7 separate regions of the Homo sapiens genome follow, and regions 2, 3, 4, 5, 6 and 7 are each linked to region 1. Evidence: promoter capture Hi-C in 16 types of primary human blood cells and fetal thymus (Javierre and others, 2016). All regions are on one chromosome and are shown on one strand. Each heading gives the region's core, a stretch centred on a gene start or on the middle of the fragment in contact. The rest is flanking DNA. Distances are from core to core; before and after follow the strand shown. Region 1 holds the start of PPARD (peroxisome proliferator activated receptor delta). Region 2 holds the start of LHFPL5 (LHFPL tetraspan subfamily member 5). Region 3 holds the start of CLPSL2 (colipase like 2). Region 4 overlaps ARMC12 (armadillo repeat containing 12). Region 5 overlaps LOC285847 (a long non-coding RNA gene). Region 6 overlaps FKBP5 (FKBP prolyl isomerase 5). Region 7 overlaps FKBP5 (FKBP prolyl isomerase 5).

Region 1 (3,840 bases), core at 1,341-3,840:
TGCTCCACAAGGACTGGCCTTGACCTGTTCTCAAATCTCTCACCTGCCACCACAGCAGAGAGCACTACTAAGGGGTAAGCACGGCCAGAAGTAACAAACTGCTCAAAAGAGTAAGGAGGAGTCCTTGAAAGCCAGAGACTAGACTAAAAATCTGTCCAACACTTGACCTCTACCTCTTTAGAATGATCCACTAAAACCCTGGAGAGATGCTATTCACAGGAACAAGGAAAACCCTCTGGTCCAGTCTACCCAAATCTTTGCAAGTGCTGCAAAGGGGGTCTGGGGGTCAGTGGAGAAGGGACTGGCTCAACAACAGGCCATCCACAATCCTATTGCTTTCACAGAAAACAGTGTACAAGAGGATTACAAAACTTTAAAGTCTGGTCAAGCTGGTTCCTTTGGCTCTCCACCGCAGCTCCTAAAGGTTGCCAACTCCCATGTCCAATCTGGCTCAAAGACAGCACAATCATCAAAAGAGGAGCCCCTAGAAACCTGGGGCCAGGTGAAACAATGAGCCTTCATTTCTAAACATGAGAGTGGGTCACGCTTTCAGAATCCTCCAAGATCAGACTGGGTAGAAACAAAGGATATGTTATTTCTTGAATACTTCTTTAGAGAACCAACGCCAAATAAAGGAGCTCAAACTGAAGGATATGACGAGAATCTTCTGCTTGGTAAGGTTAAACATCCAGACACACATGGAAGGTGGTGGGCTCTCAAGCCCCAGAGAAGATGATCTATGTGACTGGAAGCAGATGTGTCTGCTCAAGTTCCTGACAAGGTCTAACTACTGCAGCCCCACAGCCCACCAGGGTAGTTATCAATCTGATACCTCATACTATGCCTGGGCAAAGGGAACAGAGCTCTGGGATTGCCGTTCCTCCTGGATACAGAGGAAATTAAGCTCCCAGGGAAAAAGAGGGACAATTTGGATTCCCTAGATTCAGAAAAGAACAAAGAAAAAAGAGGGAGAAGAGACTCCAAGAGAACATGTTCAGTGACCAACATCAGAGGCACATTCAGTTGGCCAAAGATTGTCAAAGAGATATGAGAGAAAATCAGCAGCTGTTTCAAGCCACCAATAATAAAAGGGGACAGATGCCCGCCAGCCCCAGGGCTATCAGGCCAGCAATCTATTTCAAAACTCAAACGGGAAAAAAAAAAGTTCTGGAGCCAGTACACAGAAAAAAGGTTGAGGACCACAAGTATTTTCTGGAGCACAGCTTCTGGAGAATTCTCTTAGTCCTTTCGGATGGAGCACAGGGTGGAGGGTGGGAGTGAGGGCAGAGAGAGGCTGGGGTATCATGGTATAAGTGTATTCCACACATCCAGAGTGGAAAGACACAAAACCCCGGTTCCTGGAAGGGGAAAAGAATTGGACAAAGCCTCCGGCTACCCGTGGCACACATCCAGCTCAGCGCCGTCTCCCCCAAGGGTTCCTGGAAGTCAACAGCCCCATAAAGGGGAAGTATTAAAGCTGAGATAAGAAGAATGGCCTACAAATTGGACATCATCTCTGATGCAACACCCACGTACATTCTCCCACACAATCTGTTATTTCCTTTAGTCAATCAGCCTCTTAATTCGATCAAGGTCTGAACACCTCCACCCCCACCCCATGGTTATGTCAACTGCAGGTCAAGTGAAAGTAGAGTAGAGTGTGGAGCTAAGGCTTCTCCCTGAAGCAGGGGAAAGGAACAGGGAGAGAAAAGGAGGTGGGCGACAGGAATGTAGGGGACAGAATTGATACGAAGGAAATCGGAAAAAGGAGCAAAAACAGGGCCTCTCAGGGAACCAAGGTGAGAGTCTTAGGGAGACAGGGACTGCAGGCACGGAGTTGGAAAAAGCCTAGGAACACCCTGGGGAAGAGGATGGGGACCCATAATACTAGGAGGGATCAGACCACAGATAAGAAGGGGACAGGGATGGGGAGAGAGAGTAAAGCCTGAGAGAGCAAGGATGGGAGGATGAAGGCAGGAGACAAGGATAACGAGGGGGACAGAGGAAAAGATCCCAGAGAAGACTCTCGCTAGATAGGGCAGTGGATTCAGGAACACCAGAAACGGGTGAAGGAAGAGGTCAGAGGCAGGGGAGGGGAATGGGAGAGGCCCCCGGGCCTGAGACGGGGTTCTCACAAGTGGGAGAAGACGAAGCCACCAGGCCCAAGAGGGGGCAAAGAGTAGGGTGGAAGGAGGCCCGTATTTCGGACTCACTCAAGCAGCTATGGGGGTCCAAGGGCGGGGGGGCGCAGGGTCAGCGGGGCGCCTACATGGCAACGCACGACGGCTGACCGGAGCGGGCCGGAGCATCAGGAAGCCGCCGTGACGCTGTCCGCGGACCCCGGCAGCTCCCCGCACCCCGTTCCCCGCCGCCGGGCCTTGCGCCCCAGTCCCGCTGGCCGCCTCGGCCCAGGCCCGGCGCTTCCCTCCGCCACTTGCCTGACCGCTTCTCTCGTCTCGGACTGACCTGTCCCGGCTGCCTACGGCGCCACCGCCGCCGTCCCGCAGGCTCCGCAGAATTCTCCCGCTCCTGCCAAAACTTTTCCCATTAATCCCCAGGTCCGCGGCGGCCGCAGCGTCACACGCTCCGCGGCCCGGCCCCGCCCCCGCCAGCGAGACGTCACCGCGCTGCTCGGCCTTTCCCTCCCCACGCCCCCTTCCGCCCGGCGGCGGCCAATCACCACGCCTCCTGGAGACTCCCCTAATTCTGCCTCTCCGCCCACCGCACGCTGCCCCGGGCCAGCCTGTGGCGCCCTCTGGTGCGGGATGCGGACGTAGCAGCTAAGGGAGGAGCAGGGGAGCGCCAGGTCCAGTAGAACAAGTCCAGCAAGTGACACAAGAGGGAATTTAAAGCTGGAAGGGAATTTCTAGGTCATCTAGTGCAACCTCCTCATCTTCCAGTGAAGAAACTTAGTCCTAGAAAAGGTACGTGACTTGCAGTGACAAGTCTGGAGAGACTCTTAACCCAGTGCTAGGTCCACTGGAGGAGATCATATCGCCTATAATTTTCAAAAAAGGGCTTTCCGCCTTCAAGAGGCTTCTACAACTGGAAATTTACGGTCTTAGAGTTCTTAACCTTTCTTCCCATGTGCTTATGCAATACGCTTATTCACCTAAAATAGGGGACATCCTCCTTATTGTTGTAGAAAATTCTGTTCTTATTAATCCACATCTTTAAGACCTGGAAGGGACCTATTATCCCAACCTACCGCTTAAGATGTACCACAGGAAACTACCTAGCAGCTGGGAGGCAATCTGGTGGAAGAAGTTGGCTTTCATCTGACGATGAACAAAGCTTGACTCTCAGGTATATGACCAATGCCTCCCCTCCATCATCATTAAAGATGACCCCTCCCCTCTCCTTCGGCCACACCTTCCGTAGGCCGCAAGCTCCTTAGGCCACACCTAGCTATCTGGATGAGTGATTTTTTTTTTTTTTTTTTTTTTTGAGACACAGTTTCACTCTGTCGCCCCTGCTGGAGTGCAGTTGCGCAATCTCAGCCCGCTGCAACCTCCGCCTCCCGGGTTCAAGCGATTATCCTGCCTCAACCTCCCAAGTAGCTGGGATTACAGGCATGCGCCACACGCCCAGCTAATTATTGTAATTTTAGTAGAGACAGGGTTTTGCCATGTTGCCCAGGCTGGTCTTGAACTCCTGGACTCAAGTTATCCTCCCACCTTAGCCTCCCAAAGTGCTGGAATTACAGGCGTGAGCCACCGTGCCTGGCAGGGATGAGTGATTTTTTCCCCCTTCTTTCTGCTTCTCTTTTTCTTTTTCTTTTTTTTCCCCTACTTTTTGAAATGCTTGTGCATTATATTTGTAACTTAGATGTCAACCTCC
Region 2 (3,840 bases), core at 547-3,046, 460 kb before region 1:
CATTGTTTTAAAGGACCCTAGGCCAGGTGCTGTGGATCACATCTGAAATCCCAACACTTTGGGAGACTGAGGCAGGCAAATCACTTGAGCCCAGCAGTTCAAGACCTGCCTGGGCAACATGACAAAACCCCGTCTCTACAAAAAATACAAAAAAAATTAGCTAGACATGGTGGTGCGCACCTGGAGTCCCAGCTACTTGGGAGGCTGATGTGAGAGGATCACCTAAGTCCAAGGAGGTTGAGGCTGCAGTCAGCTGAGATCATGCCACTGCACTCCAGCCTGAGCCAAAGAGTGAGACTCTGTCTCAAAAAACAAACAAACAACAACAACAACAAAAGGACCCTAAATAGCTTCCTCTACCTCACAAAATATCACTCCATTTGCTGCCTTAAGTATAAAATCCCATGATCAAGGAAAAAAGACTTTCACTCCACAATGAAAGAGGGGAATTTAGATGAAAGTTTCTATAGGCAAGGTCATACCCTGCATAATAGTAACACTCCAAAATCAGCAAGAGACCTTAGAATCTGAGAGCAGTTTGGAGTGGGAGAGAGAGAATGAGGACAGAGTTCTGGGCACTCTTAAAAAGAACAAAAGCCCAGAGGTGGGAGATGAAGGCATCTAGAATGTGCTTGACTGGTGTCACTACTTTGTGCTAGGGTTGAGTCCTATTCCCACATGGCCAACAATGGAAGCTTCCTTCTTTCTCTCTCTCACAGCTGCAAAAACTGATGTGATGGCCTGGGAATCAGGACTGGCAACTGTGTGCTCCTGGGCAAGTCACTTCCCCTTACAGATGAGGTTCTGGGCTCAGATGAGGTTCTGGGCTCAGAACCTCATCTGTAGGATGAGAGGGTTGGACAGCTTGGTCTCTAAGGTCTTTTCTGCCTCTGCCATTTTAAGATTCTCAACTCCTCAGAATCTTCTGCAGAGCACTGAGTAGGACTGGGCTATAGGAGAACAGCTAAATTTAAGGCCCAGAGCCCTGGCAGAGGCTGGGATGGTGCAGCTGCAGCTGTGGCCCCGGGGTGGGCCCCTGCCTGCCCTCCCACCATCTCTGCTTACCCGCAGCCAGCTGCATCCATGCACAGATCTTATAGACTGTGGCCGTGTTGCAGATGAAGAACAGGCTGAAGCAGATGATGGAGCCAATGATGAGGAACATGCCCAAGGCCACAAAGAACATGGCAGTCTTGAAGGCTCTAGAGGGGATGGAGGAGAAGTCTAGGGGGCCGCCCTTGCAGATGAGCTCGGAGGACAGCACGTTACCCACGCAGTAGGAGAAAAGGCCGAAGTAGCCTGCCTGCGGTGTGTTGACGCTGTCGCCGATCCAGTAGGGCTGGATGAAGAGGGCCATGACCAGTACGGAGAAGCAGATGGTGAGGGTACCCCACATCACGCCCACGGCTCGCGAGTTCCGCACATAGTTGGTATGGTAGATCTTGGCTGCCTCCTGGGCCGGCAGCAATTTCACCATGGTGAGGGCAGCAGGCCCTGGGCTGGGGTCCCGTGGGCTGCAAGTCCGTAGCTTTGTGGATGGAGGCCTAGAAGCAGGTCACTCCCCAGCGGGGTTTGGGGAGGAGGCTGAGGTCAGGGCACCAGGTGAGGTCCCTTCAAGGCAAGGGGAAGAGGCTTAATAGGACAAGGACAACCTTGATTTGGTCAAGGAAAGCTTGCCAGGTGCCTGTGTCCGCTCTAGCCGAGGCTGTCTCCAGTCTCCTGCCTCCTCCCAAGCCCACCAGGGCCTGCTGGCGCCGCCCTGCCCGTCTCCCTCTTCCCGGCTCACGGCTCCCGAGAGCCCCGCCCCCTCCTCCGTCCGCGGAGGGCGCCGTTTCAGCACCGCGGCCAGCGCCCCGGGGTTCCGGGCGAGGGGCGGGGCCTGCAGCAGAGGCGGGGAAGGGGCAGAGCTCCCACTACAGGCCCCCGCCGCGGGGAATCGGAACACCGTTCACCTTCCTGAACCGAGATGACAAGAATTGGGAAGGTGGGGATGTGACTGACACATTCCTACTGCTCAATTCCAGCAGCAAAAACGCTTTCCCCCCGCAAAAGCGCTGTCCACATCCCATCCCACCCCGCCCCTGCCTGGCTCCCTAGTCGCCTTCCCAGAACCTCCAACTCCACCACTCCGGAGGTCAGCAAAGCCTTTCCTGGTTGCCTTCTGGTCACCGGTTTTTCGTCCTTAGCATTCAGTCAACGATTTCTAAAAGCATACTATGTGTTAAGATTATGTTGGAGGACATCTAAGCAAAACCACAGATAAAAAAGACAGGGCCCCCGTCCTCAAAGACAGTGAAATATTTACATATATAATATACGTATATATGTAGTCTATATAAATATATATATAAAACGCCTGTATATGCAGACTGATTGTGTGATAACAGAAGCAACTACAAAGTATAGCAGACAACATTCTTTATGAGCCTTCTCAGACCTGAACATATGTGTTTTGTCAAATACAATGCCTTTCTCCCCTTGTTTCTATTTGTTTGTTACATATTTCCCCATTTAAATATATATATGTTTTAATATATTATATATATACATATTTCTCCTGATTTTATAGGTAAATACATGGCTAGTGTAAAGAACTAGGAAAATTCCACTGGGCGTGGGGCTTACGCCTGTAATCCCAGCACTTTGGAAGGCCAAGGCAGGCGGATCATGAGGTCAGGAGATCGAGACCATCCTGGCTAACACAGTGAAACCCCGTCTCTACTAAAAATACAAAAAAATTAGCCGGGCGTGGCAGCACGCGCCTGTTGTCCCAGCTGCTGGGGAGGCTGAGGCAGAAGAATGGTGTGAACTCGGGAGGCGGAGCTTGCAGTGAGCCGAGATCGCGCCACTGCACTCCAGCCTGGGTGACAGAGCAAGACTCCGTCTCAAAAAAAAAAAAATAATAATAATAATAACACCAACGTCCGGAGCTAAGGAAAGACAAGACAATCTTAAAAACATGGACTTTGGGGTTCAACAGGCCTGGATTTGAATGAGCTACTTACTAAGTAACCATCCATGGACTTAACCTTCCTTCCGGAGCCTCAGTTTCGCCATCTATTAAATGCAGGAAATGCACTTACGCCGGGCGTAGTGGCGGGTGCCTGTATTCCCAGCTACTCAGGAGGCTGAGACAGGAGAATTGCTTGAACCCCGGGAAGCAGAGGTGGCAGTGAGCTGAGATCGCACCATTGCACTCCAGCCTGGGCAACAAGAGCAAAACTCCATTTCAAAAAATAATAATAATAATTTTTTTTTTAAAGTGCTCAAAGGTACATTAGTGGTCTCTAATCCCAGCACTTTGGGAGGCCAGGCAGTCCGATCACTTGAGCTCAGGAATTCTAGACTAGCCTGGGCAACATAGCAAGACTCCCGTCTCTACAAAAAATACACAACTTAGCCAGGCATAGCCAGGCATGGTGGTGCTTGCCTGTAGTCGCAGCTACTTGGGAGGTTGAGGTGGGAGAATCACTGGAGCCCAGGAGGTCGAGGCTGCAGTGAACCATGATCACACCACTGCACTCCAGTCTGGGCTTTAACAAAAAAAGAGAAAGTACTCAAAAATGTTGGTGATTATTATTATTACCATTGTTAATCTCTGCAGTTTCCCCCTTCTGAACATACTCCTTTACACAATTGGATGATGTATGTACAATTTTATTTTATTTTATTTTATTTTATTTTTATTTTACTTTTCTTGAGACAGAGTTTCACTCTTGTTGCCCAAGCTGGAGTGCAATGGCATGATCTTGGCTCACAGCAACCTCCGCCTCCCTGGTTCAAGCGATCCTCCTGTCTCAGCCTCCCAAGTAGCTGGGATTACAGGCATGCACTGCCATG
Region 3 (3,840 bases), core at 885-3,384, 430 kb before region 1:
GGGCATTGGCAACTCCCCACACAGGGACATAGAGGCTGGGTCCATCCATCCTAGAAAGGTTTGGGCCCAGGGCCAGGTGGGCAGGAACAGGGCGTACTGAGCATTCTGCTCCCTGCATTCCTAAAAGCGAGTGACAACCATGCTGGACTGCACACTCTCCTTGCCAGGACCACATAATCTTCCCAACAGCCTGGTGGGGTAGGTACTTTAGCCTCTCCTTGTAGATGAGGAAACTAAGGCTCAGAGAGCCATGATGACCTGCTTGAAGTCACAAAGATAGGGTGTGGAAAAGTCAGGATTTAAACTCAGGTCCAACTGCAAAGCTGTGGTCCTGCCACTGCAGTGCCATGCTCCTCTCAAGAAATCATGTCACTGTGGCAGGGAGATGGGGACTAGTAAGGGGAAGGTCATTTCCTACTTACCCTGCCTCAGTGGTGTGAGAGAAGAGATATTCATTCATTCAACAAGCATTTATTGGCCGGGCACGGTGGCTCATGCCTATAATCCCAGCACCTTGGGAGGCCGAGCCAGGTGGATCACCTGAGGTCAGGAGTTCAAGACCGGCTTGGCCAACATGGCAAAACCCCATCTCTACCAAAGATACGAAAATTAGCCAGGCATAGCGGTGCACCCCTGTAATCCCAGCTACTCGGGAGGCTGAGGCCCAAGAATCGCTTGAACCCAGGAGGCAGAGGTTGCAGTGAGCCGAGATCATGCCATTGCACTCTAGCCTGGGTGACAGAGCGAGACTCCATCTCGAAACAAACAAACAAACAACAATAAGCATTTATTGAGCACCTACTATGTGCAGATACTAAGCTGGGGGTAGGTGCTTCATAGATGAATATGATGCGATCCCTGCCCTTGAAGAGTTCCAACCACTGGGAGAGGCAGAGAAAAGACATGGCCAGTTAGGGAGATACATGGTCTGCTGAGGGTCTGACCCCAGGGTACAGGAGCTCCAAGGAGGGAAGCCTTCTCAGAGGAGGTGGCTGGAGTTGTTTTGCACCATGAGTAGGAGTTTGCCAAGTGGAGAAGAAGAAGGGCACTCCAGACAGAGGTGAAAAAACAGGTGGGGCCAGGTGTTTTTTTTTTAACCTCCCTGCCCGCTTCTCTACTTGCCAGAAGTTGCCCCATACTAGGGCCTCACCTGGGGCAAGCAGATCATGGTTATTCTGGCCCTGGGGGCACAGAAGGCTCCACCGGAGTCCAAGTCCATGAGGCAGCAGCCACTGTAGCACTCAGAGTGGTGGAAGCACCTGTCTGTGATTTTCTGTGGGGACAGGCAGAATGTCTGCCAGGCTGGGAGCAATCCCTGAGTCGTGTGGGCGGGTAGGGGAGGGTTCCCACCATTGCCAAAGAGCCCAGGGATCCAGGAGAAGTCATGAGGTTGTCACCCCTTGGGGGGCTGGTTCCCCCCCCAGCCCCACCCCGGCCCCTCAGCAGGACCCAGGGCAGCAGAGAGGAGGAGAGGGGGATTAGCACTTTTCCCTCGGCCTCTCCTTTCCTGGACCCCCCTCACCTCCATGAGTCCCATGGGGTGTGTACTCTTAAGTCCCATTTTGCGGGGCAGGGTTGGGGGATGAGAATGAAGGGGCTGCGGGCTCGAAAAAGAGGGAGAGAAAGAGGAGAAAAGGGGAGAGCCCTCGTGCCTGGAAGAATCACTAGACAGTGAGAGGAGGTGGAAGAAGAGGAGGAGAAACCAGAGCATGCAGGGTGGGTTTGCCTGTGAGCAGTTTGGGGAGGGAAGCGAGCCCAGGACTGAGGCCATCGGAAGGGGCACGGGCGGGGGAGGTGGAGGGAGCGAGGGTGCTGGTCATAGGCCAATTTCTCTCCCCTCTGAGGCCACCAGGGGAAAGTGAAGCGGCTTTTGAAGTCCGTCTGAGGATGCCCCAGGCTACCCGCCTGGGTGTGGTTCCGGACCCACCTCTCCCTTTCAGGCTGCCCGGCGCCTTCGGGCTCCAGTGCCCCGGCGGCGGGGCCACCCTCTCCTGCGGTCGCGGCCGGCTGGGCGCGCTCCCCGGCTCACCTTTTTATATTGCGGAAGCGCGCTCCAGAGGGGCAGCACCGCCCCCGACAGGACCCCCGCCACGAGCGCCAGGGCTGCGGCCATGGGCCTGGGCGGCAGAGCAGCGGCGGGGTTCCGAGGGGCCGCGGGATAAAACCTCTTCCCCGGCCACGTGACCCGGCGCCCCAGGCCACCCCGGCGGAGGAGGGACGTGGAGGGCGAGGACGCCTGCGGAAGGGAAGGAGGGAGGAAAGGCGCTCAGGCTCGCACGGGCGGGATTCCAGACTGTAGGGGCCCTGGGAGCCTCCATACGTGTTACTTCCAAGTAGAAGCTTGAAACTGTAAGATAAAACTCTATTTTTATTGTAAGATAAAACTCTATTTTATTGTATTTATTTATTTTACAGACGGAGTCTCGCACTGTCGCCCAGTGCAGTGGCGTGATCTCGGCTCACTGCCATCTCCGCCTCCCAGGTTCAAGTGATCCTCCTGCCTCAGCCTCCCGAGTAGCTGGGACTACAGGTGTGCGCCACCACGCCGGGATAATTTTAAAAATTTCTGTAGAGACGGGGGTCTCCCCATGTCGCCCAGGCTGGTCTCTAACTCCTGGCCTCAAGTGATGGTCCTGCTTCAGCCTCCCAAAGTGCTGGGATTACAGGTGTGAGCCACCGCACCTGGCCTCAAAACTTTATTTTTATAAACGGCACAAAACATATATGCTGAAATAAAAAGAGCTTCCTTCCTGATGTTGATTCTCTGTCTGCCCTTGCAGCCCCAGATTCTCCCCTTACCTTCGGGATAATCCAGCCCCACCCTCTGGGCTGCTCACACCCGCTGCAGGCCCCATTCTCCTCTTCTGTAAGAACCAGGAGGTGGGACAAGATGGTCTCTAAGTCTTAAATCTCTTGCAGTCTTAATCATTCTATTAATTGTCTAAGGATTTGTCTGTGAATTGTGTGAAAGTCAAGATGTGGGGGCAAAATGGAGAAGTGGGAAGAGAAGAAAACTCAGAATAGGGAGGAGGGTTAAGGGAGAGCTAGAGCTGCACAGAGCAATCCTGGAACCGGGGGAGGCAGGCCTTCCTCAGGACTTCCCTATGGATGAAGCTTCCACCTCACCCCACCTGCCTGCTTCTGCTTTTTTTTAATTTCTATTTTTTTTTAATTTTGTATTGTTAATATTTGTTATAGAGACAGGTTGTCCTTATGTTGTCCAGGCTGGTCTTGAACTCATGGGCTCAAGAGATTCTCCTGCCTCGGCCTCCCAAAGTGGTGGGATTACAGACGTGAGCCACCACTCCCAGCCTGCTTCTGCTTTTGAAGTTTCGCTTAAGAAATGAACCGAGGAATCCTGTCTTGGTGGGGAATAACAGCCAAGAATAACAGCCCCCACCGCACTCAGAGGGCCTTGTATCCATTATTTCCGTGAGCCCTCCCTGTATTAACACTAGCTGTCACAGAGTAATTAACACTGGCTGTAACAACAGAACTCCTGGAATTTCGTGGCTTGGCACAATAATGCTTTATGTACAGTCTGATTTGGGGCAAGATACCCTTCTTCCATCCTGTAGCCATCTATAAGACTGGCCTCTGGCTGGGCATGGTGGCTCATGCATGTATTCACAGCACTTCGGGAGGCCAAGGAGAGAGGATCAGTTGTTTTGGGGGTTTTTTTGGTTTTTTTTTTTTTTTTTTTTTTTTTTTTTTTTGAGACAGAGTCTCACGCTATTGCCCAGGCTGAAGTGCAATGGCACAATCTCGGCTCACTGCAACCTCCGCAAAGTGCTGGGATTACCAGTGGGAGTCACCATGCCCGGCTGAGAGGATCTCGTG
Region 4 (3,840 bases), core at 925-3,424, 400 kb before region 1:
TACCTTCAAAAATCTATCAAAATTCAAGCCACTTCTCCTCACCCCCACTTCTTACCACCCTCTTTCAAGCCACTGGCATCTCACCGGGATTTCTGCAATAGCCTCCTGTCTCCCTGCTTCCATTCTCACCCCCTGCATCTACTTTCAGAGCAGCTGACATGTTAGACATGTCACTCCTCTGCTCAAGAGCCCCCATTTCATTCAGTGTAAAAGCTAAAGTCCTTACAGTGGCATACGGTCCAATGTGATCTGCCCCTCTCTCCCTATTATGTCTTGGACTCCATCTTCTCTTCTCTCCCTCATGACCAAGGTTCCCATCACAATGGCCTCTTACATATTCCATGAACATGCCAGGTACACACCTGTCTTAGGGTGTTTGCATAGGCTGTGCCCTCTGCTTAGCACACTCTATCCCCAGATACTCACAACTCACTCTCACACCTCCTTTAAGACTTCATTAAAATGTTACCTTCTCAGTAAGGCCTTCTCTAACCACCCCCATCCCAGCCTTCCTTACCACCCTCCACTGTTATTTTATTTTTCTCTACAGCATTGTCACGTGTAACACACATTTTCATTTCTTTAATTTTGTTTTTTAATTTAATTTTATTTTATTTTATTTTATTGGAGACCGTCTCACTCTGTTGCCCAGGCTGGAATGCAGTGGTGAGATCTTGGGTCACTGCAACCTCTGCCTCCCAGGTACAAGCGATTCTCCTGCCTCAGCCTCCCAAGTAGCTGGGATTACAGGTGTACGCCACCGTGCTCAACTAATTTTTGTATTTTTAGTAGAGACGGGTTTTCGCCATGTTGGCCAGGCTGGTCTTGAACTCCTGACCTTAGGTAATATGCCCACTTCGGCCTCCCAAAGTGCTGGGTTTACAGGCCTGAGCCTCCGCGCCCGGCCTTTATTTTGAAATGATTATAAATTTACAGGAAGTTGCAAAAATAGTACAGCGAGGTCCCATGTGCTCTTCACCCAGTTCCCCTCAATGGTCACATCTTGCATTATAGTATAATAGCAAAACTAGGAAATTGGTGTTGGTGTAATATGTGTGCATAGTTCTATGTCATTTCAGCACATGCACATATTTGTGTAACCACAACTGCAGCCAACAGATTATCCCACCAGAACTGTCCCATTGCCACAAAGATCTATCTCAAGAGACCCCTTTAGACTCACTCCCACCTGCTCCCCCAGCCCAAAGCCCAGGCAACCACTTGTGTTTTCCATCTCTATATATGACCTTTTAAGTTTGAGGATGTTATATAAATGAAATCACACTTTATGTGATCATTTGAGATCGGCTTTTTTCACTCAGCATAACGCCCTTGAGAACCATCCAAGTTGTTGTGCATATCAATATTATATTCCTTTTTATTACTAAGTAGCATTCCATGGTAATGGCTATACCATTTTGTTTAACCATTCACCGATTGACAGACATTTTTGGTTGTTTCCAGTTTGGGGCTATTCCACATAAAACTGCTATCGACAATCGTGTACTGGTTTTTGTGCAGATATAAGTTTTCATTTCTCTAGGATAAAGGCCCAAGAGTTCAACTGCTGAATTGGTAAATGTATGTTTAGTTCTGAAAGAAATTGCCAAACTATTTTCCAGAGTGGCTGCTGTACCATTTTATATTCCCACCAGCAATATATGAAAGATCCGGTTTTTCTATATCTTTGCCAGCATTTGGTATCGTCACTAATTTTGATTTTAGATCTTCTAATAGGTGCACAGTAATATCTCAGCATGGTCTTCATTGCATTTCCCTAATGGCTGGTGATATTAAACATGGTTTCATGTGCTTATTTGCCATCCATATATCCTCTTCAGTGAAATATCTGTTCATGTATTTTGCCCATTTCCTAATTGGACTGCTTGTTTTAACATCAGGGTTGTTTTTGTTTTTAGACAGAGTCTCACTCTGTTGCCCACGCTGGAGTGCAGTGGTGCGATCTCGGCTCGCTGCAACCTCCACCTCCCAGGTTCAAGTGATTCTCCTTTCTCAGTCCCCTGAGTAGCTAGGATTACAGGTGCCCACCACCATGCCCAGCTAGTTTTTGTATTTTTAGTAGAGATGGGGTTTCACCATGCTGCCCAGGCTGGTCTCAAACCCCTGACCTCGTGATCCCCCATGCCTGGCCTAACATTCAGTTTTGAAAGCACTTGATACAATTTAGCTGAGTCCTTTATCAGATATGTGATTTTCAAATATACTCCCTCAGCCAGGCACAGTGGCTCACGCCTCTAATCCCAGCACTTTGGGAGGTCGAGGTGGGCGGATCAAGAGGTCAAGAGACCGAGACCATCCTGGCCAACATGGTGAAACCCCGTCTCTACTAAAAATACAAAAATCAGCTGGGCATGGTGGTGTACACCTGTAATCCCAGCTACTTGGGAGGGTGAGGCAGGAGAATCGCTTGAACCCGGGAGGCGGAAGTTGCAGTGAGCCGAGATTGTGCCATTGAACTCCAGCCTGGGTGACAGAGCAAGACTCCATCTCAAAACAAAAACAAAAACAAAAACAAATACACTCTCCCAGTCTGCAGCTTTTTTCATTCTCTTAACAGGATCTTTCATGGAGCAAATGTTTTTAATTTTAATAAAGTCCAATGTATTGATTTTCCTTTTATAGATCATGCTTTTGATGTCATGAACTCTTCACCAAGCCCAACATCTCAAAAGATTTTCTTTTTCTTTTTTCTTTTTTTTTTTTTGAGATGGAGTCTCACTCCCATCAAACAGGCTGGAGTGCAATGTGGTGATCTCGGTTCAATGCAACCTCCACCTCCTGGGTTCAAGTGATTCTCCTTCCTCAGCCTCCTGAGTAGCTAGGATTACAGGCCTCCTGGGTTCAAGATTTTCTTCTTGAAAACTGCATCACCCCCACCCAGACTCCTTTATCCACCCCCCGCCTTTTATTTTTCTCCATGGCACTTACCACATGAAACACACTATATATTTTACTTATTTGTGTATTGCTTGCCTTGCCCTGTTAGAATATAAATTCCACAAGCACAGGGATCTTCCCTGTTCTGTTTACTGCTTTCTCTCCTGTACTTAGAGCAGCGTGTTGGCACAAAGTGTTCAATATTACATTTATTGAGTGAATAAAGGGATCTTCGGTTCTAGGATGCAAGATGCGGGCAGGACGCAGTGGCTCACGCCTTTAATCCCAGCACTTTGGGAGGCCAAGGTGGGCAGATCACCTGAGCTTGGGAGTTCAGGATCAGCCTGACCAACATGGAGAAACCCCATCTCCACTACAAAAACAAAAAATCAGCGGAACGTGGTGGCACATGCCTGTAATCCCAGCTACTCGGGAGGCTGAGGCAGGAGAATCACTTGAACCCGGGAGGCGGAGGTTGCGGTGAGCTGAGATCGCGCCATTGCACTCCAGCCTTGGCAACAAGAGCGAAACTCCGTCTCAAAAAAAAAAAAAAAAAGTAAGATGCTTGGACCTAGAGGCATTACCAAAGACAGGTAACCTCACGAGCTGCACCTTTATGAGCCATGTAAGAAGTAAGCAAGAGTCCTGGAGTGGAAGTGAGCATTCCCATCAGTACCTGCCCTTCCCTTCCCCCACCCCTCAAAAGCCGTGGCGACCCGCAGGACAGGTTGGAGTCAGCAAGTCTGGGACAGGGTTTCAGAACGAGGGAACAGCAGCAAGGGGGCATGTGAGAGCATAAAGCATGCATTGTACGTGGCTGGGGTTAGGGCAAGGAGGTGCAGCCCATGGCCAATCACGCACTTTATGCTGAGAGCCTTGAGGCAGACCCAAAGGGCCTGATGGCCTAAGAGCCCTCTGGAGAGAGTGGGCTGATTCAGGGAA
Region 5 (3,840 bases), core at 458-2,957, 380 kb before region 1:
ACTAATCCTGTTCTTCTAACCAGATTAGAAAGTCCTTGAGGCAGAAACAAAGTCTGCTTCTTCTTTGAGCCCTCTCCTCCACTGCCCCCGCCTCCCACCACCATTCCAACTCATCCCCCACAGGCCAGGCTTGGCACCGGAGTTCATGTTCAATAAATATTGGGTGTATTGAAATGATATCCTCCCCTTGGGCAATTGAAGAGACAAACACGCTGGATGTTAGGTTAAATAATAACCCAAGCCAGCAGGTGGTGAGTACCAAATGTGTGTAATAGCTATAGGGACTCAGAAGAAAGAAGGTGGTTCTAGGGAGAAAGATATGGGAGAAAGATCCCAGGAGGTTCTAGGCCTTGAGCTGTGTGTGTGTGTGTGTGTGTGTGTGTGTGTGTGTGTGTGTGTGTGGAGGAGGAGGAGATGGGAGGGGTGGACGTGACTCATTCTGCTTGACATCACCACAAAACAACCTCCACGCTAGGCACTTCACATGCATTATCTCTAATATTTAAGGTTGGGGGGATAGGATTGGGAGGCTTGGAGGGCACAGTGCCCAAGCCAGGCCTGCCTTCCCAAAGCCAACCAGAGCATAGAGGCAGCCTTGGATCTGGGCTCCCCACCCTCAGTCCCTGGGCACTGCCTGTTCTCTGGCCTGCCACTCCTACGTACTACACCCAAGAGAGCTGCCCAGCACTGCCTAGTTCTGGATGCACTCTGGTCCCACCCTGGTGAACAACTGCCTGTGTGACCTTGGACAAGGCACTTCCTCACCGTCATCTGTACCTCTCTTGCAGCCCTTACAGGCTGTGACTTCCAGTCAGTATCCAAGTGATGCTTGCCGCCTTTCCGGGTGTCACCTGGGCTGCTGGGGCTGTCTGCACCCTACATTCCCCCAAACACCCCCATGCATACACACTCATTGCTCCCTCCCAGTCTGGAGCTGCTGAGAGGAACAGGGTACAGAGTGTGAGCAGGGATGGTAGGTTTCCTGTGGTTGCAAAAGGAACATCAGGACTTTCCCTGCGGTGCCCCGAGCTGTGGGAGAAGTGGGGGAGGAGGAGGCAGGGCCAACCTCGAAGGAACCTCTGCTCTCTTCCCTCCCCATTTTAGTGCTCACAGCTCTCAAAAAGGCTGGTACAGTTTGTTACGCTGGGACCGGAATGTACCGTGTGTTTCATATGGCCTCTGTCCAGTCCTACACTGGCCGCTTTATATTTATACTTCCTTCTTTAGCTGTGGCATCCTGCTGTCAGTTACCCCTGCTCTCATCTCCCCATCTTCCACTTGGGCTCCCCAACTCCCCATGGATCAAGAAATGAGTCTCCTGCTTCCCACTCCCCGTCTTTAGGTTCTAAACTCTTGCTGGGGGTGGGAAGGTGGGGTGCAGAGAGACCCTGGAGAAGTTAGACTCCAGAAGGGTGAAGCCCCCAGTCCTTTCTCTCTCCCATCACCCAGCCTTGAAACTGCCTCTAAAGCTGTGGAGTCTCCACACCAGGTCTGGAGTTTCTCTGGACCCTTGAGGCTGATCCCTCTCCCCTTGCCAGCCTTGTTTCCCAAGCCTTTTAGCAATATTCCTGAGCCCAGCTAGACAAGTGACAGCACTATGTAAGTTGCCTCCAAGAGCTCGGCAGACCTGGTAATCACAGATCCTTCCTTGTCAGTCACAGAGAACAGAGGCAGAGGTGGGGGCCTCGCGGCAGGGAGGGGGATCTACCCATCCTCTCACCCCCAGGAGTCACACATTCCTAATGGAATTTGACACTTGATGATTTCTCAATGATTTTCTGAGTTGTGACCAGTTTAATCTCCTCAAAGTGGCTTAGATATTGAGAGATCAATACGTTTATGATCTGGCCTTTCTCCCCCAGGAGCATGGGATATTATTATTCACATTGATGGCTAATCTTGATTGCTTATATGGAGAACTATCTCTGCACACCAACCCCCAACAGCGTTTGGAACCCAAAGACTGTGGCACAGGAGACTCACTACTAGACCCAAGGTTGAGGTTCAGGTCTTTATTTACAGGATCCCATTTACTCCTCACAACAATTCTGGGGTGTGGGTGCTATTGTTAGCCGTCTTTGACAGTTAAGGAAACTGAGGCTCAGAAAAATAACAGAGCTCAGCTGAGATTCACACTCAGGTCTGTCTGACATCAAAGCCAGCACCTTTTTTTTTTTTTTTCTGAGACAAGGTCTCACCCTGTTGCCCAAGCTGGAGTACAGTGGGGAGATCATGGCTCACTGCTGCCTCAACCTCTGGGGCTCAAGCAGTCCTCCCACCTCAGCCTCCTGAGTAAACGTCCCAAGTAGCTGGGATTACAGGTGTGAACCATCACACCTGGCCAAAGCCAGCACTTCAAAATAGTCTTCAAGATTGCTCAGATTATGTAACTAAAATGCAAATTCTCCATTTCTCAAGCCTCAGAGTCTTACTCCCTTCTCCCTTCAAATGAAGGAGAACTCTGCCTCCTTGGAGCTCCTGCATGCCTTGAGGTGTGATCTGACAGCTAGAAAATTGTTTTTAGCCCATTCGACAGGCTGAAATCTGGATACTAGCAAGGCCCCAGAGGACAGTCTCAGCAGTGGAGTTGGACAGTCAGGCCTGCTGGCTGTGGGCTCCGTGTGTCTCTTGGCTGGCTGGCATGCCTGCTGCCCCTCACCCTTCACCCAGGAATAAACTTCCTGGTTGTATTGATTTGGCTCTGGGATCCAAAAACCAGGGGCTGAGCCTGGGTTCCAGGGCTCTGAAGTCAGGTCTATCTGCAGCACCCAGTGACAGTGACACGGCCTCTCTTAGGACCCGTTTACAGCAGGCCTTTGGGAGAAAGCACCACCATTATGTCAATCCCTGGCACTTATATCAGGCTGTGTACATTTAATGTACCTGCCTTAACTCAGTATGATCTTAATATGCCTCTAAAGTAAGAATCAGACTCGCTTTCCTGCTGGGAAAACTGAAGCAAGAGCAGCTAAGTTGCTTGCCTAAGGGCAAGAAACTAGGTTTGTAGTTGCTGTCTGGGGTACTTTGTTTCCTATCACAGGGCCTCTCCTGAGCTAAGAGAGGAAAAGTTTTCCAGGATGTCCTGATGATGTGTGGGCTTTCACTCAGCCCTATCACCCAAGGAAGGGACCACAGCACCACACTGCCCGTGCCAGCCTTATCTGCCTACCCCCAGGGGATGAAGCAGGGACCCCAGACGTAATGTATTTAGTTGGTCTGTCCTGGTCTCTGGCAATCTGTCCAATATGGCTCTCATGGGCACATTTTGTCTTTCTGACCTTCTTCTTTCTCTGAGTTCATTCTTCTTTGTTTATCTTTCCTTCTGAATTTCTCTCTCCTTGTTCACTGAGAGTCCTGTTTACCTCCATCTATCGGTGTTTACTTTTTATTTTTGCTTTTTGTATTTCCAGTCTTCTGGGAATTTTCCCAAGATCCCTTCTGCCTTCTTCCCTCTGACACCATCTTTTTTCCCAGGAAGCATCTTCCATTTGTTCCTACCTCCACGCCCTATGCCTCACCTTGCCCCAAGCTTCTGCCAGTGTCAGATTGCTCAGCCTTGTTAATCCAGTGGGCACTTACAGAGCACCTACTGTGTGTCCCAGGAATTGAGTTAATGCCCTGGGAACCAAAGTCCTACACCTGTGCCTGGGCATTTATTTATTTATTTTTATTTTAATTTTTATTTTATTTTATTTATTTATTTTTTGAGATGGAGTCTCGCTCTGTCGCCCAGGCTGGAGTGCAGTGGTGTGATCTCAGCTCACTGCAACCTCTGCCTCCCGGATTCAAGCAATTCTCCTGCCTCAGCCTCCCAAGTAGCTGGGATTACAGGCCCCCGCC
Region 6 (3,840 bases), core at 838-3,337, 330 kb before region 1:
CATAATGGTATGTTATGTATTCAAGCATTTTCTTCTACATTGTTTTTCTACCTAGATGTAATGTGATAGAAGGTATAAAGCCCTAAGCTTAGCGTCTGGCCATACCAGTTGCTCAATAAATATTCTCTTCCCTTTTTACAGGGCTGGTAATTTTTTCTCTTATATAATGTTAATTCCCAATCACCAATTCACTATCACATCACTTCCTTTTCTTCCCTGGAAACGTATGTTTAAATACATTTGCCCTCTCTGCATTTTGAACATTTGCATAATGTACAAGTACTTTTTTTCTTTTTTTTTTTTGAGACGGAGTCTCTCTCTGTTGCCCAGGCTGGAGTGCAGTGGCGCGATCTCGGCTCACTGCAAGCTCCGCCTCTCAGGTTCACGCCATTCTCCTGCCTCAGCCCCCCGACTAGCTTGGGCTACAGGCGCCTGCCACTACGCCAGCTAATTTTTTGTATTTTTTTTTTTAGTAGAGACAAGTTTTCACCGTGTTAGCCAGAATGGTCTCAATCTCCTGACCTTGTGATCCGCCCGCCTCAGCCTCCGAAAATGCTGGGATTACAGGCGTGAGCCACCGCCTCCAGCCACAAATACTTTTTAGTCGCCATAAGCATAATCAAGAAATCATTTTGCAAATGGTAAGCTTTTCATGTTGTGTATTCTTTCCCATGATTAGAGAGGTAAAAAGTGGCCTGGGATGCATAAAGATGTCGTAGACCTCTGCAATCTGCCACATTATTTCTTTAAAAAAAAAAAAAAGCAAGCTTCTGGACTAGATTGATTTTTACTGAAATATTAATTTTTCTTTATTATTTTTAAACACTGAAGTTGAATTGTATAATTCACAAATGCCTATACAAAACTTTTTTCCATGTCCTCAATACTTTGTATCAGATTATTTATATTTCTCATGGTTTGGTTTCTTTTTCTTGTCTTCATTTTTCTGAAGGTAAAAGGGGATTTTTTCCCCCCTTTTCTGATCTGTAACTTGTTTTGTATTTGGATGATTACCCTTTATAACAAATTTTATCTTCTAATTATGCTATTAAGCGAGAAGATAGTGGCCGGTCACGGTCGCTCACGCCTGTAATCCCAGCACTTTGGGAGGCCGAGGTGGGCGGATCATGAGGTCAGGAGATCGAGACCATCCTGGCTAACACAATGAAACCCAGTCTCTACTAAAAATACAAAAAATTAGCTGGGCGTGGTGGCGGAAGCCTGTAGTCCCAGATGCTGGGGAGGCTGAGGCAGGAAAATGGTGTGAACCCGGGAGGCGGAGCTTGCAGTGAGCCGAGATCGCGCCACTGCACTCCAGCCTAGACGACAGAGTGAGACTCCGTCTCAAAAAAAAAAAAAATTCTTCTAAATTAGATTTTAGGGTTCTTTTGAGGGCTGAGTTTGTGTGTGTAGGTTTCTCTTAGCCCCTTCATATATTGTGTTGGAACTTCTGTTTCTATTTTTTAAATGTTTTCTTATGTTGAATTATTTTATTGCTGTTTGAAAAAAATATGTTAAAACTGTATTTATGGGTGGTTGCTAGCCTTTTAAATTTACATAGTAATAAATTTTGCTGTTAACTTCATTCTTAGAATATGAAGTTTTTTGTAATTTAACTTCTTTAGGTATTTACCCTGCAATTCTGATACCTTGAGAGAGAAAGGGATAATTGACTTTTTCACTTTCATTTTATAGATACTATTTGGCTACCTTGTTCCTTCCCTTTATTTTCATTTTATTTGTGTCTCCTAAAAGTGGGGACCTTTTAATATAATGTTAGGCGCTTTATAGGCTGTCTTTTCTTTTATAAAATGTGTTCATTTCACTTTTCCATTTTTAATATGACTATATTCTAGATTTTCTGTAATTCATGATATATTTTTTAAGATTTTGGCTAGATTTGTCAGTTTGGATTGTAGTTTCTTTTAACTTGTTTTTGTTTATTTATTTATTATTTTTTTTTTTTTTTGAGACAGGATTGCACTCTCTTACCCAGGCTGGAGTGCAGTGGTGCGATCTCAGCTAACTGCAACTTCTACCTCCCTGGCTCAAGCAATCCTTCCACCTCAGCCACCCAAGTAGGTGGGACTACAGGTGTGCACCACCATGCCCAACTAACTTTTCTATTTTTTGTGGAGACAGGGTTTGGTTTTACCGTTTTGCCCAGGCTGGTCTCAAACTCCTGGGTTCAAGGGATCGTCTCACTTTGGCCTCAGAAAGTGCTGGGATTACAGGCATGAGCCACTGCACCTGGCTTATTAATTTCATTAATACTTTGCTTTTACCTCCATTTAACAAACTTTGGTATTACCATATATGAGATATTTTCATGTGTATGTGTGCATTTATATTTTTTAAATATGTGACTGAGTTTTTTCCCTTTTTCTTAGATTCCTAGGCTATTTCAATATTTTTATACCTGTTGTCTACTCTGCAGCTAATGACACAGATAGCAGTATATGAGTTTTTCTTTTCTTTTCTTTTCTTTCTTTTTTTTTTTTGAGATGGAGTCTTGCTTTGTTGCCCAGGCTGGAGTGCAGTGGCACGATCTTTTCTCACTGCAACCTCCGCCTCCCAGGTTCAAGCGATTCTTGTGCCTCAGCCTCCCGAGTAGCTGGGATTACAGGTGCCCACCACCACACCCGGCTAATTTTTTTTTGTATTTTTAGTAGAGTCGGGGTTTCACCATATTGGCCAGGGCGAACTTCTAACCTCAAGTGATCCACCCGCCTCAGCCTCCCAAAGTGTTAGGATCACAGGCATGAGCCACCGTGCCCACTGAGAATTTAATACACTTTATGTAAGTTAATTTTTTATGATAGTTATCTAGCTTTGCCAGACCAATTTTGTTAGTAAATTTAAAACATTAAAAAATTTTGAATCCTCCTAATTCTGTGTCTCTAATTTAGTAATTTTAAGTTTTGATCCTTGTTTCATTCTATCATTCTTTTATTTAAAAAAATTGTCATTGGCTTTTCTAAAAGTGAATCGTGAATCATGATTCATGTGAAATAATTAACTCTAAAACAGCAAAGATACCTTTTAGAACCTTCATTTTTTATAAATTGCATTAACAAGTTATGCAGTGATGTGAAGATACAAACTAAGGTCATTAAGTTTTCTTTAATTTATAATTTATATTAACCTATTCATTGAAAAGGATTTGATAGTTTGTGATTAAAGCAAAACAGGCAAAGACCATTAAAAACAAAGACAGAAAATGAGCATAAATCACTTGAGAAATAATGAGCAGAATGGGGGAATGGGAAGAAATCTTTATACCAGTAATCTGAGGCAAGATAGTTTCTGTGTTTGAACATTAAATTTAGCTCTGAGCTTCCTGGCAAGCAAGAGAAAAAAGGAAACAGGGTGACTTTTATAGTTATTGTCCAGTAAAGAAAGCTTTTTCAATTTTTCAGAAGAGAGAAACTTTTTCTGAGTCATAAGTTATAAGAGGTTTGTTATGTGAATTCTTACATATGGAACATAATTTATATTTCTAATTTTGAAAATTATTGAATTTCTTCTGTTGCTGTCTTAGCCATCAGGTACCATTCTATGCATTGTAATTATATTGGTCATATTAAGTTCATGTCCACTGTTGTCAAAAGTGGAAATACCATGGCTGGGGTGTGTTTATGTATTGCCTCTAGAGCTGTAGCCACTGACGAACAGGAAACTGAAAGCTAAAAGTTCAGGAAATGTATTGTATTTAGACTGTGGAAAACATATATATGATACTTTACTGAAAACCATGCTCTTTTGAAAACTGAAATATGTATGTATTTAATTAGAGATGAATATTAAGGATTCATATCAGATGCTTAAATATGATAATAG
Region 7 (3,840 bases), core at 665-3,164, 300 kb before region 1:
CGCCTTTGGACAGTTCAGCACAGTAAGCTTTATCATAGATTAATATCCATAGCTACATAGTGATTTTAAATCCAGAATAAATCTAGGGTGAGGGAAAGAAGAAAAGTCTCTCTTATAAAAATGGTGAAACTGTCTCAGTGTGTCATTACAGTTTTTAGGAATTGTCTGTCCTTACTGTCTTTTTTATATAACATTCAATCAAGGAAAAAGTTTTATTTGTTTTGTTAGCTTACAAAAACCTATACTCCTAATGGCTTAACTGGAATTAAGGGGAAATACTTGGAAAATTCAGTTTATGTCTTTATTCTTCCAGCTTTATCTGCTTTTGAAAGTTCAAAAGTTTGTTTTCTTGTTGTTTTTATCTTTGTGTTTTAATTATTCATAGTACTTCTCTTCATATGGACTCAGTACTACTGACAAGAGCCATCCTCTGAGATTACTAAGATGACTTGCATCCCTTGAAGTGTTGGAGCCAAAACATGAAGAGCTAATTCCTTTATCAAATGGGATTTAGAAAGCTAGTAAATCAGCTTATACAGGTTGCCTATTTACTCGAATTTAAACAAGCCATTGTTTTCAAAATAGCAAGGTGAGAACCAAAAGAAAATGTTTCTTTTTTTCCTCTCTCTTTTTTTTGAGAAAGAGTCTTGCTCTGTCACCCAGGCTAGAGTGCAGTGGCATGACCTCGGCTCACTGCAACTTCTGCCTCCCAGGTTCAAGTGATTCTTGTGCCTCAGCCACCCGAGTAGCTGGGATTACAGGCGTGTGCCACCACGCCTGGCTAATTTTTGTATTTTTAGTAGAGACGGGGTTTCATCATGTTGGCCAGGCTGGTCTCAAACTCCTGGCCTCAAGTGATCCCACCCGCCTCAGCCTCCCAAAGTGTTGAGATTACAGGCGTAAGCCACTGTTCCCAGCCTGAAAACATTTCTTCATTGACAGTATTTTCATTTAAAAATTTAGCTGAACTCCAAATGATGAACATTCAAAAGAAAGCATTGTCTTTGGATGATTTGAAAGCAAGTGGCAGATATCATGACACCTCACCCCTAAATACTACAGCATGTGTCTCCTATGAACAAGGATATTACTCTGCATAAAACCATAATACTATATCACATTCCAAAAGGCTGACATATAGTAGTAATAAGCTAATATGCAGTCTCCTGTTCCAAGTTCTTATATTTTGTCCCCTAATCCAGGATCCAGCCAAGGATCACTGATTACACTTGGTTGTCATATCTCTATAGTCTCCTTTAATCTGGAACAGACCTCCCGTCTCTCCCTCTCTCTCTTTCTCTCTCTTTTTTTATCTTTTAAGAGATGGGGTCTCACCCTTCGGCCCAGGCTGGAGTACAGTGGCATGATCACAGTTCACTGCAGTCTCAAACTCCTGAGCTCAATCAATAGTCCTTCCATCTCAGCCACCTGAGTAGTTGGGACTACAGGTGCACGCCACCTTTTTGGTTCTTTATGTTGTTAACATTTTTTCAGGAGTGTAGGCCAATGGTCTTGTAGAGTGCTCCACAATCTGTTTTTGTCTTTTCTTCCTGGTTAGTTTCAGGTTAAACATTTTTGATAGGGATAGCACATAGGTGATAGCACATCTAAATCACATCACTACATCATATTAGGAGACAGAGTAATAGCACTTTTTTTCATTATTGGTGATGCAGAGTTTGGTTATGATGCAGATCATTTGTTAAAGTGTTATCAGTCAGATTGTTTTACTTGAAAGGTCTTTTTCCTTTTTTAATAATAAGTAATCTGTGGGGTACTTTCCCAATAACCTCTCACCTGGTGGTTTTCATTTGTTCAGTGCTTTACACCCAGAGATCTATTGATGGATGTCAGCATCTCTGTGAATCCCCAGGAAATTTTTTTGTGTGCATATATTTTCCCAGGCATACAGTCCAGGACCCTCCAAATATTTAAGAGATCTTTTCCCTCTGTTATCAAGGTGCCTTTTACAAGTTTCTGTGCATCACAGAAGCATATTATAAGCAGTGGGTTTCTAGAAGCTGGGAACCAATCCCGTTCTTCTGATTTTCCTGATTATCTAGCTCACCTCATGTAGAGCTAGGTACATAATTTTTGTTGTTTGTTTGAGAACGATTGTTCTGGCCTTTCGCTTATCCTGAGCCAAACATTTGGATCTTTCATGTTTGGTATAAAGCGTACTAGAAACTAGAGCAGAGAGACTTAGCCCCTGGTTTTTGGTGTTCTCATTTGAAGATTTTGGGGCACAACAATTGGATTTGTGTCTCTGTTGAACTGAATAGTGGTCATTTGGAAATGAGTTAAAACACTACAGTATATGTTTTAGTTGTCTAATTATAGTTGTATCAATAAGACATTTTCTGCAAGTGCAGAAAGACTCTTTGACTCTGTAGACAAGAAGGCTCAGGAGATGAGTTTAGGGGGCATTAAGTTTGTTATTAGCCTAATGTGTAATAGCTGTAGGAGTGATTCCTTCTTGATTTTCCCTGCCCAAACAGGGAGCAGTGTGGAATTCATCATGGCAGTGGTTAGGTGTGTTTTGCTTAGCCTATGATTAGCCTGTTGGTTACATTGGCTTGCCTTGCATGAAAAAATGTCTGTCAGGTGACTACCAATAACAATAAGAGCTAACATTTGAATAGTATACCTTAAAAATACACATTATACCACTTCAGAAGATTATCTGTGAAAACAGATATTTTTATTCTAATCACATAGGTAAGGAAAAAATCTTAGAGAAGTTAAGGTAGCCAACATCAAACAGCTTGTAAGGAGCAGAGGAAGAACACCCCCAAATTCCATTACAAATTCCTTGCACTTTTTGTCTTACCATTCTCAAAGGTAGAGGCATTCTAGGGAATCTAAATATGAACAAAGCATGGACCTTGCTCTGAAGGATCTTTTAAACCTAACAGGCGCATAGTCTTATGAATCTCTTACAGACAACAAATCGAGAGAAGAGCTAAGGAAGTACGTAAAAGGGCAAAATGGCCTACAAATAGAGGGTCAAGGTTGGTATGACAGAAGTAGGATTTGAGAGAGGTGGATGTTTTGGAAACAAGAAAGGGAGTGACCAGAAGAATGACTATGGGAAAGCACTGGGTTTGTTGTAGAGGTGGAATTGGCCTAGTTTGGCTGGAGCATGAGCTGCATGAAAGAAAGTAAAATAAAATAATGGCAGCTAGAACTCAAAGATAGATTAGGGCCAGATTGTGAAGGGCCTTGAATGCCACATGGAAGAACATTCTGTAGGTATTTTGGGCAGGAGATGAAAAATGACCCTACAGAAGGCCCAATAATGATGATAAATGGTTAAATATGTTTAAGTTACCAATCTATGCTAATCTTTTAAGAAATGTTATCTCACTGTAACTATGAATAGTGTACTGTGTCCATTTTGCAGATGAAAAATGAAGGCTCAGCAAGATTAAGGAAACTGGAAATGTCAAGAGCTGCAGCTAGGACCCAGACTTGGGTCTGTTGGATTCTAAATCCTGTTCTGTGTCTCACTGTGATTGATATATTGTCACTTCTTTTATTAAGAACTGATAAGGTCTTAATCCTCTGTCAAGAATATGGCTGTAGAAAAAGGATGTTTTCAAAGTTGTGAAGGGACTGCTTCTCACCATGTTATGTTAAGGAATGTAATCACTACCCAACTTGACTTGTACTGTTCTCTGTTTTGAGACCAGAGCTAGATGGGAAATTAAAGAATTGGATGATGTTTTATTTACATGCCTGATGACATCAATACATGCTCATAGCAAATGCCTTTGTTTTCATTTTCAGTATCTAAGCTTATTGGCCCTAAGTAAATCTTAGGTTAGGTAGAGCTCAGTT

What was found. The method cuts DNA at HindIII sites, captures the fragments that hold promoters and counts their contacts. A CHiCAGO score of 5 or more calls a contact.
Region 2: a contact is called between the fragment with the promoter of LHFPL5 here and the fragment with the promoter of PPARD in region 1, in 3 of 17 cell types (fetal thymus, activated CD4 T cells and total CD8 T cells). The highest score is 5.9, in fetal thymus.
Region 3: a contact is called between the fragment with the promoter of CLPSL2 here and the fragment with the promoter of PPARD in region 1, in 9 of 17 cell types (total CD4 T cells, erythroblasts, naive CD8 T cells and 6 more). The highest score is 9.4, in total CD4 T cells.
Region 4: a fragment that was not itself captured here is called in contact with the fragment with the promoter of PPARD in region 1 in 7 of 17 cell types (naive CD4 T cells, naive CD8 T cells, activated CD4 T cells and 4 more); the score reaches 11.6 in naive CD4 T cells.
Region 5: a contact is called between a fragment that was not itself captured here and the fragment with the promoter of PPARD in region 1, in 2 of 17 cell types (naive CD4 T cells and naive CD8 T cells). The highest score is 6.1, in naive CD4 T cells.
Region 6: a contact is called between a fragment that was not itself captured here and the fragment with the promoter of PPARD in region 1, in 1 of 17 cell types (non-activated CD4 T cells). The highest score is 5.6, in non-activated CD4 T cells.
Region 7: a contact is called between a fragment that was not itself captured here and the fragment with the promoter of PPARD in region 1, in 1 of 17 cell types (naive CD4 T cells). The highest score is 5.2, in naive CD4 T cells.

Annotation. Positions count from the first base shown.
Region 1 is chr6:35,341,308-35,345,147 of GRCh38, reverse strand. It overlaps PPARD (peroxisome proliferator activated receptor delta), which reads right to left and starts at 2,590. Exons shown (of 8, transcript NM_006238.5): 1 at 2,467-2,590. RefSeq lists silencers at 2,129-2,178, 2,209-2,348, 2,529-2,738. The HindIII fragment of the contact is 7,732 bases long and covers 1-3,296 here.
Region 2 is chr6:35,803,308-35,807,147 of GRCh38, reverse strand. LHFPL5 (LHFPL tetraspan subfamily member 5) reads right to left here and starts at 1,796. Exons shown (of 4, transcript NM_182548.4): 1 at 1,066-1,796. The coding sequence starts at 1,477. RefSeq lists a silencer at 1,758-1,927. The HindIII fragment of the contact is 6,136 bases long and covers 1,675-3,840 here.
Region 3 is chr6:35,774,892-35,778,731 of GRCh38, reverse strand. CLPSL2 (colipase like 2) reads right to left here and starts at 2,134. Exons shown (of 3, transcript NM_207409.4): 1 at 2,030-2,134; 2 at 1,151-1,273. The coding sequence starts at 2,113. RefSeq lists a silencer at 2,024-2,153. The HindIII fragment of the contact is 8,503 bases long and covers 1-2,342 here.
Region 4 is chr6:35,742,831-35,746,670 of GRCh38, reverse strand. The region is part of intron 3 of ARMC12 (armadillo repeat containing 12); the gene reads right to left. Among named protein-coding and RNA genes, the nearest start is that of ARMC12, 7.7 kb to the right of the region's middle. The HindIII fragment of the contact is 7,406 bases long and covers 1-3,840 here.
Region 5 is chr6:35,723,099-35,726,938 of GRCh38, reverse strand. LOC285847 (a long non-coding RNA gene) reads left to right here. Exons shown (of 10, transcript NR_027117.2): 10 at 1-177. It also overlaps a transcript of FKBP5 not described here. Among named protein-coding and RNA genes, the nearest start is that of ARMC12, 12 kb to the left of the region's middle. RefSeq lists a silencer at 921-1,097. The HindIII fragment of the contact is 3,649 bases long and covers 1-3,531 here.
Region 6 is chr6:35,669,393-35,673,232 of GRCh38, reverse strand. The region is part of intron 1 of FKBP5 (FKBP prolyl isomerase 5); the gene reads left to right. Among named protein-coding and RNA genes, the nearest start is that of MIR5690, 6.5 kb to the right of the region's middle. RefSeq lists a silencer at 928-1,127. The HindIII fragment of the contact is 2,635 bases long and covers 770-3,404 here.
Region 7 is chr6:35,642,912-35,646,751 of GRCh38, reverse strand. The region is part of intron 1 of FKBP5 (FKBP prolyl isomerase 5); the gene reads left to right. Among named protein-coding and RNA genes, the nearest start is that of MIR5690, 20 kb to the left of the region's middle. The HindIII fragment of the contact is 3,770 bases long and covers 30-3,799 here.